Linked DNA regions of Homo sapiens: region 1 is linked to region 2. The links are contacts of gene promoters, found by promoter capture Hi-C in human tissues and cell types (Jung and others, 2019). All regions are on one chromosome and are shown on one strand. The core of a region is centred on a gene start or on the middle of the fragment in contact, and the rest is flanking DNA. Distances in the headings are between cores, read along the strand shown.

What was found. The method cuts DNA at HindIII sites, captures the fragments that hold promoters and counts their contacts. A contact is called where the count stands out against the background at its distance.
Region 1: a fragment that was not itself captured here is called in contact with the fragment with the promoter of NOLC1 in region 2 in 1 of the 25 tissues and cell types used here (H1 embryonic stem cells).

The regions. Positions count from the first base shown.
Region 1 is chr10:102,286,080-102,289,721 of GRCh38, reverse strand. The region is part of intron 3 of GBF1 (golgi brefeldin A resistant guanine nucleotide exchange factor 1); the gene reads right to left. Among named protein-coding and RNA genes, the nearest start is that of GBF1, 42 kb to the right of the region's middle. The HindIII fragment of the contact is 5,851 bases long and covers 1-3,642 here.
Region 2 is chr10:102,150,705-102,154,617 of GRCh38, reverse strand. It overlaps NOLC1 (nucleolar and coiled-body phosphoprotein 1), which reads right to left and starts at 2,229. Exons shown (of 13, transcript NM_004741.5): 1 at 2,088-2,229. The coding sequence starts at 2,207. RefSeq lists enhancers at 2,119-2,168, 2,339-2,638, 1,544-2,743. The HindIII fragment of the contact is 9,767 bases long and covers 1-3,913 here.

The sequences.
Region 1 (3,642 bases), core at 1,092-3,591, 130 kb before region 2:
GATTCTATAAAACCTACATCAAAAAAACACCCAAAGGATTTTCCCAGTTATGAATTGTCTACTACGCCAGTAAATGACAACAGGAATATGAGGCCAGGGTTTATTTACAGCCTTAGGCTATTTCCTAGGAAGCCAAAGATGCTCTGGAATTTTTGTTTGTTTTGAGATAGGGTCTCACTATGTTGCTCAGGCTAGTCTCAAACACCTGGGCTCAAATGATCCTCTTGCCTTAGCCTCCCAAGTAGCTGGGATTACAGGCGCATGCCACCATGTCTGGCTTCCAGAATTTTTGAAAAAGTAAACTGATTCTCCATTGTAACAACCTCACCCCTGTTCTCTGCCCCACACTTCCACCCACCTCCTGTCACCAAGAGCTGAATAAGTATATTCTCACAAGGATTTCTATTATCAGGTATAGAGTAAGGTATGTACCAAGGAGGGAAAGACATCAATGAAACTGCATAGCTGGAATGATTACCAAACACAGAGGCAAGACAGTGTCCCTGGTTAGCTTTAGGGTCTGCCTGTGCAGTCCTCATCACTGTGGCTATCGACTTGCTTGTCCTAGAAAGGTGAAGAATAGTAAATAACTCCTAAGGCTTTTTTTTTTTTTTTTCTGAGACAGAGTCTTTGCTCTGTCACCCAGACTGGAGTGCAGTGGCATGATCTTGGCTCACTGTAACCTCTGCTTCCTGGGTTCAAGTGATTCTCATGCCTCAGCCTTCCAAGTAGCTGGGATTACAAACGTGTGCCACCACACCCAGATAATTTTTTTGTATTTTCAGTTGAGATGGGGTTTCACTGTGTTAGCCAGGCTGGTCTCAAACTCCTGGCCACAAGTAATCCGCCCGCCTCAGCGTTCCAAAATGCTGCAATTACAGGCGTGAGCCACCACATGCGGCCAACTCCTAAGGCTCTTATCTGACTGGTATACAAAGGACCAGATGAATCTATCTAGTGACAAGTAATTTCGTTTTTTTTTTTTGTTTTTTTTTTTTTCCTTTGAGACGGAGTCTCGCTCTGTCGCCCAGGCCGGACTGCGGACTGCAGTGGCGCAATCTCGGCTCACTGCAAGCTCCGCTTCCCGGGTTCACGCCATTCTCCTGCCTCAGCCTCTCGAGTAGCTGGGACTACAGGCGCCCGCCACCGCGCCCGGCTAATTTTTTGTATTTTTAGTAGAGACGGGGTTTCACCTTGTTAGCCAGGATGGTCTCGATCTCCTGACCTCATGATCCGCCCGCCTCGGCCTCCCAAAGTGCTGGGATTACAGGCGTGAGCCACCGCGCCCGGCCGTAATTTCGTTTTTAAATCACTCCCGAGCATTAGGTCTTTATCTCCATTTTGGAGATCCTGGATAGAATCCAAAAAGAGCTCATATCATTATATCATTATATATCTCAGTCTGAAAAAAACATGGTAACACTGTAACTCTAGTCAGTCTAGTTCATTTGCACCAAATTTTAGAGGATCAGTAGTAAATAGGTGGAGAAACCACAAAGGATTATCTGAATCCAGTTGAAGTGCTCTCATGAGCAGAAGCCTCCTTTGACCAGCTGCCATGGATGTCCCAGCAAAACGGGTAGAGGAGGTAGATCGATCATGCTTACTGGCTTGCTTTAGAAAAACGGAAAGTTTTTACTAGCGCTTATGGCTGAGACAGCAAAGGAAGAGAAAGAGATATTTGCCATATACATATTGGACAATTTCAGAGACATAAAGGTTTGGGAGAAGACAGGGAGACAGGGCTGACTGGGGAGAACAAAATTTTTCAAATTAAAAAAATCAATCTTGAAGTCCCAGTGAACATCTAAAAATTTCCATTTAACTTCCTGCAAGGCCAGCCTCCAAGATGACTCCCAGTGATGTCCCCAGTGATTACATCTTTATGTATTTAGGTTGGTCTATGTGACTAATATAATATAGCAGGAGTGATGGTTACTCCTGAGGTTTACTTCTGAGGTTGGGTCAGAAAACAAAGTGTGGCTTCTGCTCTCTCTCAGATCATTCACCTATGGAGAATCTAGTTTCCATGCTGTGAGCAGTCCTATTGAGAGGCCCACATTGTGAGGAACTGAGGCCTCTGGCCAACAACCACATGAATGAACTTGGAAATGGATCTTCCAGCCCACCCCTTCAAATGACTGCTGCCCTGGCTGACATCTTGAGAGACCCTAAGCCAGAACCACTAGCTAAGCAGCTCCCAGATTCCTGACCCTTAGAAATTGTGTGAAATAGACCAGGTGCAGTGGCTCATGCCTGTAATCCCAGCACTTTGGGAGGCCAAGGTGGGAGGATCACTTGAGCCCAGGAGTTTGAGACTAGCCTGGGAAACACAGTGAGACCTCATCTCAAAAAAAAAAAAAAAAAAAAAAAAAAAGAAAATAAAATAAAAGAAACTGTGTGAAATTTTTTTTGTTTTTTAATTTTAAGCTGCCACATTTTGGGGGGTAATTTGCTACCCAGCAATAGATGGGTAGGAGAGGTAATTTGTTGGGGTAATTTGTTACCCAGCAATCGATAACATAATAACATAACATCAAACTAAGCAAGTTTGATGGGGAAATGTACCATTTGATATCATTATTTCATCTACTGGTTGAGAAAGAATCATCTGCAAATTAAAAGTGGTTATTGCCTATGATACCATTAAAAGCTAAATATGCCTAAAGAAGGGGCTCCACTGGAGGGAATGAATTGTCCTTCTCTTCCAACACTAATCTAAGGCTTGTCACAGCCAAAAAGGCCCCATCAGAAGAGTCCAACACAGTCCCCTCCCAGTAATTATATTACATATCCTACAGCCATAAATGGGGGTTAGTTAAGGGTAGGTTTCACATACAAGGCAGCCACTGTAAGGGTGTCGTCTCACATCAGAGCAGTCAAGGGGTTAAAGTTGAGGCAGCAAATTTATCCCCAGAGATATATGTCTAGCACAAAGCTGAGATTCACAAGATTCTCCCTGAGTTTTCCTTACCTCTAAATGCTGGAATAACTGATGCTCACTGAATTCCGATATTTGTATGAATAAAAATGAAGGGATTTAGCAAATCTTGTTCCTGCACACAGTTGTCAAAAAAAATCTGACCTTTACAACAGGAAAAAGAGGGGGGATTTAAAGATTTAAAGAAGAGGCAGTGACTGTCTGATGTATAACAAACCTTTGAAAAATTATGAAGCAGTGAAAATCCCCTACAGGTCCCAACAAAATGTGTCCAATTTGCATTCCAGCAAAGCTTTCCATACATACCATTTGGCTCCTGTGTGTACTTCCAGGCAAATAAATCCCGAGGAATAATCCCACTGGGACCTAAGTCTGATCTCTGATATATTACTGCTACACAGCTCCAGACCAGGCTCCACAAACTGCCTTTTTGGTTCCAAATAACTAAATCAAAGTCATCCTGATAAGCTTTGAAAACAGGGAATGCGAGGAGTGGTTTAATGAATGTTACAACTCAACCTATTATAGACCACAGTACATTAGGAGAAGAGAAAGAAAGACAGAAAAAAAAAAAAAAAAAAAAAAACCCTTATGCTTTTACATCCCCAAATCTCTCAAGGCCAAATCCAGACATACCTGTCATTCACCACACCTCACTATAAAGCCTTGTTCAAAGCCTGACTTTGATCAAATGGTTAGGA
Region 2 (3,913 bases), core at 980-3,479:
CTTCAACCTGGGAGGCAAAGGTTGCAGTGAGCTGAGATTGCACCACTGCACTCCCGCCTGGGCAACAGTGAGACTCTGTGGTCCAAAAAAGAGTAAATGATCAGAGTCAGTACAGATGGGAACTCACCTTTGGACAAATTACCTTATCTCCCTGAGATTATTTTCTTTTCTATAAAATGGAGATAATACTACACATCTCATTAAGTTATTGAGAGGATAAGACATAATGCATGTTGGCCGGGTGCGGTGGCTCACACCTGTAATCCCAGCACTTTGGGAAGCCGAGGCAGTAGATTCTTGAGGTCAGGAGTTCAAGAGCAGCCTGGCCAACATGGTGAAACCCCGTCTCTACTAAAAATACAAAAAAAAAAAAAAAAAATTAGCCAGGCATGGTGGGGCACACCTGTAGTCCCAGCTACTTGGGAAGCTGAGGCAGGAGAATCACTTTAGCCTGAGAGGCAGAGGTTGCAGTGAGCTGAGATCGTGCCACTGCACTCCAGCCTGGGCGACAGAGCCAGACTCCGCCTCAAAAAAAAAAAAAAAAAAAATTAAATGCATGTGAAGGGCGTAGCATCTGACCCTTAGTTAGCTCTTCACAAAGATTAGCTTTTCTCACATAAAACCATTTCAGAATCCTAATCCTGAGGCCGGGCACGGTGGCTCGCGCCTGTAATCCCAGCACTTTGAGAGGCTGAGGCAAGTGGATTTCTTGAGGTCAGGAGTTCAAGACCAGCCTGGCCAACATGGTGAAACCTCATCTCTACTAAAAATACAAAAATTAGCCGGGCGTGGTGGTACGCGCCTGTAATCCCAGCTACTGGGGAGGCTGAGGCAGGATAATCACTTGAACTTGGGAGGCGGAGGTTACAATGAGCCGAGATCGCACCATTGCACTCCAGCCTGGGCAACAGAGACTCCGTCTCAAAAAAAAAAAAAAAAAAAAAAGAATCCTAATTCTGAAATGTCCAATTCCATCCAGTCCACTGTGAAAGCACTCTCCGCAGTCTCCTTAACAGTCAACTCTAAACAGTTTCATTAAGAAAGCAGTTAGATCACATGGCAGCCTGTCCCAGCTTAAGGAAGTTTTGAGGCTGATCTGATTCTTTGCTTTCGCAGCCTGATTCTGCTAAAAGTGCAAGCCATCCTTCCTAGTCATGCTATCATCCCTGCTGAAGACCCCCCCTCTCTCCTCTCTCAAAGTGTCTTCCCATGCAGGAATGTCCGTTGATGTAGATTACAAACCTTTCACATTCCTGGTTCTCTTACTCTTACATGTGTTTGGAGCATCCTAAATTGCCATAACTATGGTACAGCTTTCACTTTTACAAGATTCCTCTGTACCAGCACTGAGATTGCTACTCTTACACATCATCTTACTGAAACTCACAAAAATCCTATAAAGTGGATGATGACATCCCTGTAGAAAGACTCAGAAAGGTTAAATAAACTGCCCGGGTCACGTATCTAAAAAGTGGCAGAGCCTGGTCCCAAACCTAGGTTTGTTTGATTCAATTAGCCAAAGCTCCAAGCCCACTACTATGCCTACTTGGTAGGGCTGTTGATGACTCTCAATTCTCAGTGTAACTCAAAACAAAACTCTGCTTCTACTTTCATTCATTTTCTTCTTTACAAACGAAAATCCCAGACTTCATTCTAAAGAAATTTCACTTGCTTTTGAATCCCAGTAAATGTGACTGAGGCTAAGGTCAAATCACGGTTTGCCTCACCCAACGAAAAGCCCCCCAGAAGATGCCGAAGAACCAACGTCCTCAGTGGAACAAGACTCTACCTCCCCGCTGCACTCTGCCAGCCATGTGGCTTGGGGCCACGAGGCTCCCACGCTGCCGCCGCTGCACAGGTCACAAGAAAAAAGCAACAAGACTCAGCGATATCTACTCAGACATGGAGGAAGGTAAGCGACCGAGGCCGCAGGCTTTCTCTGGTCACTGCCGAGGGGTCGGCGTAAAGGCCTTGCAGACACTGGACTGGCGGACCCCCAGACTTCCCCACCTGGAAACCTAAGCACGTCAGGGCCTGAAGCCTTGTGGTCATCTCAGCCCGGTCCCCGCCCCAAGCCCGGAACTCACAGCTCCTGTCGCTTTGGCGAACTTATTGGCCACCTCTGAGAGTTGGTTATCGCGCAGGAAGCCGAGCACGAGGGGATACAGGTCGCTGGGAACCACGCGGCGAATGCCGGCGTCCGCCATCCTCCAGGCAATACGCGTCACTACCGTTGTCGACGCAGCACGACTCAGGAACCCAACAGGGGCAGTGGGCGGGCCTGTGTTACGTCATTGCGCCGCGCGGGCGCATAACGGAAAGGGTGGGCTCCACAGGGCAGTCCCACCTTCACCTCAGAGGTAGGGTAGACGGGAAATCTATAAACTCTTTCCGGTCCCACGCGTATCGCCATCTTGGTTAAGGGCGGAGCCCACCGGCCGCCAGCTTGTGGAGGCGGAGCTCTGACGTCAGGGATCACGCCCTCGGCGTGGCGGGAAAACTCGGGACTTCCCGCGCAGTCTTTCTGGGGGAGGTACCTTTTCTCAGAGCAGCGGTTTCCCGCGCCCCTGCTGGGACTCGGATTCCAGAGTAATGAGTGGACAAGCGGGCTCGAACAGTTGTTCTACAAGATCTCCCAACCGCCCCCATGGCGTACTGGCACGGCCAATGGATTCTCGCCCTTCATCTTCACTGCCTCCAATACCCAGGGAGGCCCTTTCTGATACCATCCCAGCCTCCAGACTCCTGCCTCTGCTGCAGAAGATCCTTCGGGTTATCCGTCGTGAGGGTGGGAGGTGTTGATTTCCCAAGCTGCCCCTCCCATCTCCCTTATATTCCGCCTTAGGTCAGCTCCATGAAGAGGAAAGGTGTCATGCACCAAACCTGAATCACACACAGCAACAATCTATTCAAGCTGAAGAGATTGTTGAAAATAACCCTTCTTCCTCCGGGATCAGAGTTCACACTCTGCCTTTGTCATGAGTAACTCCAGTATCAATGCCTTTGTCATGAGTAACTCCAGTATCAATGCTCAGACCTACCAAGTTAATTCCAAGTTCTGCCACATTCCAGATATTAGCAGTTAGCAATCCCTTCAATCCTACCCACTACCCCTTGGCTACCTCCCACTAATGCCGCTCAGGAAAGATAAGGATCCTCATGGGAACACACCCCCCTCTCCTATATAAAATTGGCCAGGCATAGTGGCTCACAACTGTTATCTCAACACTTTGGAAGGCCTAGGTGGGAGGATCCCTTGAGCCCAGGAGTTAAGAGGCCAGCCTGGACAACACAGTGAAACCCCCCTATCTCTACAAAAAATTTTTAAAATTAGCCAGGTGTAGTGGCATGCACCTGTGGTCCCAGCTACTTGGGAGGCTGGGGCAGGAGGATCAACTGAGCCAGGGAGGTCAAAGCTGCAATGAGCTATGATCCTGCCACTGCAATCCAGCCTGGGCCACAGAGTGAGATCCTATCTCAAAAATCAAAAACAAAGCTGGGCACGGTGGTTCATGCCTGTAATCTCAGCACTTTGGGAGGCTAAGGTGGGTGGATCACCTGAGGTCAGGAGTTCAAGAACAGCCCTGGCCAACATGGTGAAACCCTGTCTCTACTAAAAATACAAAAAAAATTAGCCAGGCATGGTGGCGGGTGCCTGTAATCCCAGCTACTCAGGAAGCTGAGGCAGGAGAATCACTTGAACCCGGGAGGCAGAGGTTGCAGTAAGCCAAAATCGTGCCACTGCACTCCAGCCTGGGAGACAGAACAAGACTCCATCTCCAAAACAAAACAAAAAAATTCAAAAACAGAAACAAAAAACTCCACAGTTCCCTCTTCCCCACGCTTCCTGTTCTACCCACATGCATGCATTATTTAAAACATTTGAGCACCTGCTGTGCCATGCAGTGTGCTC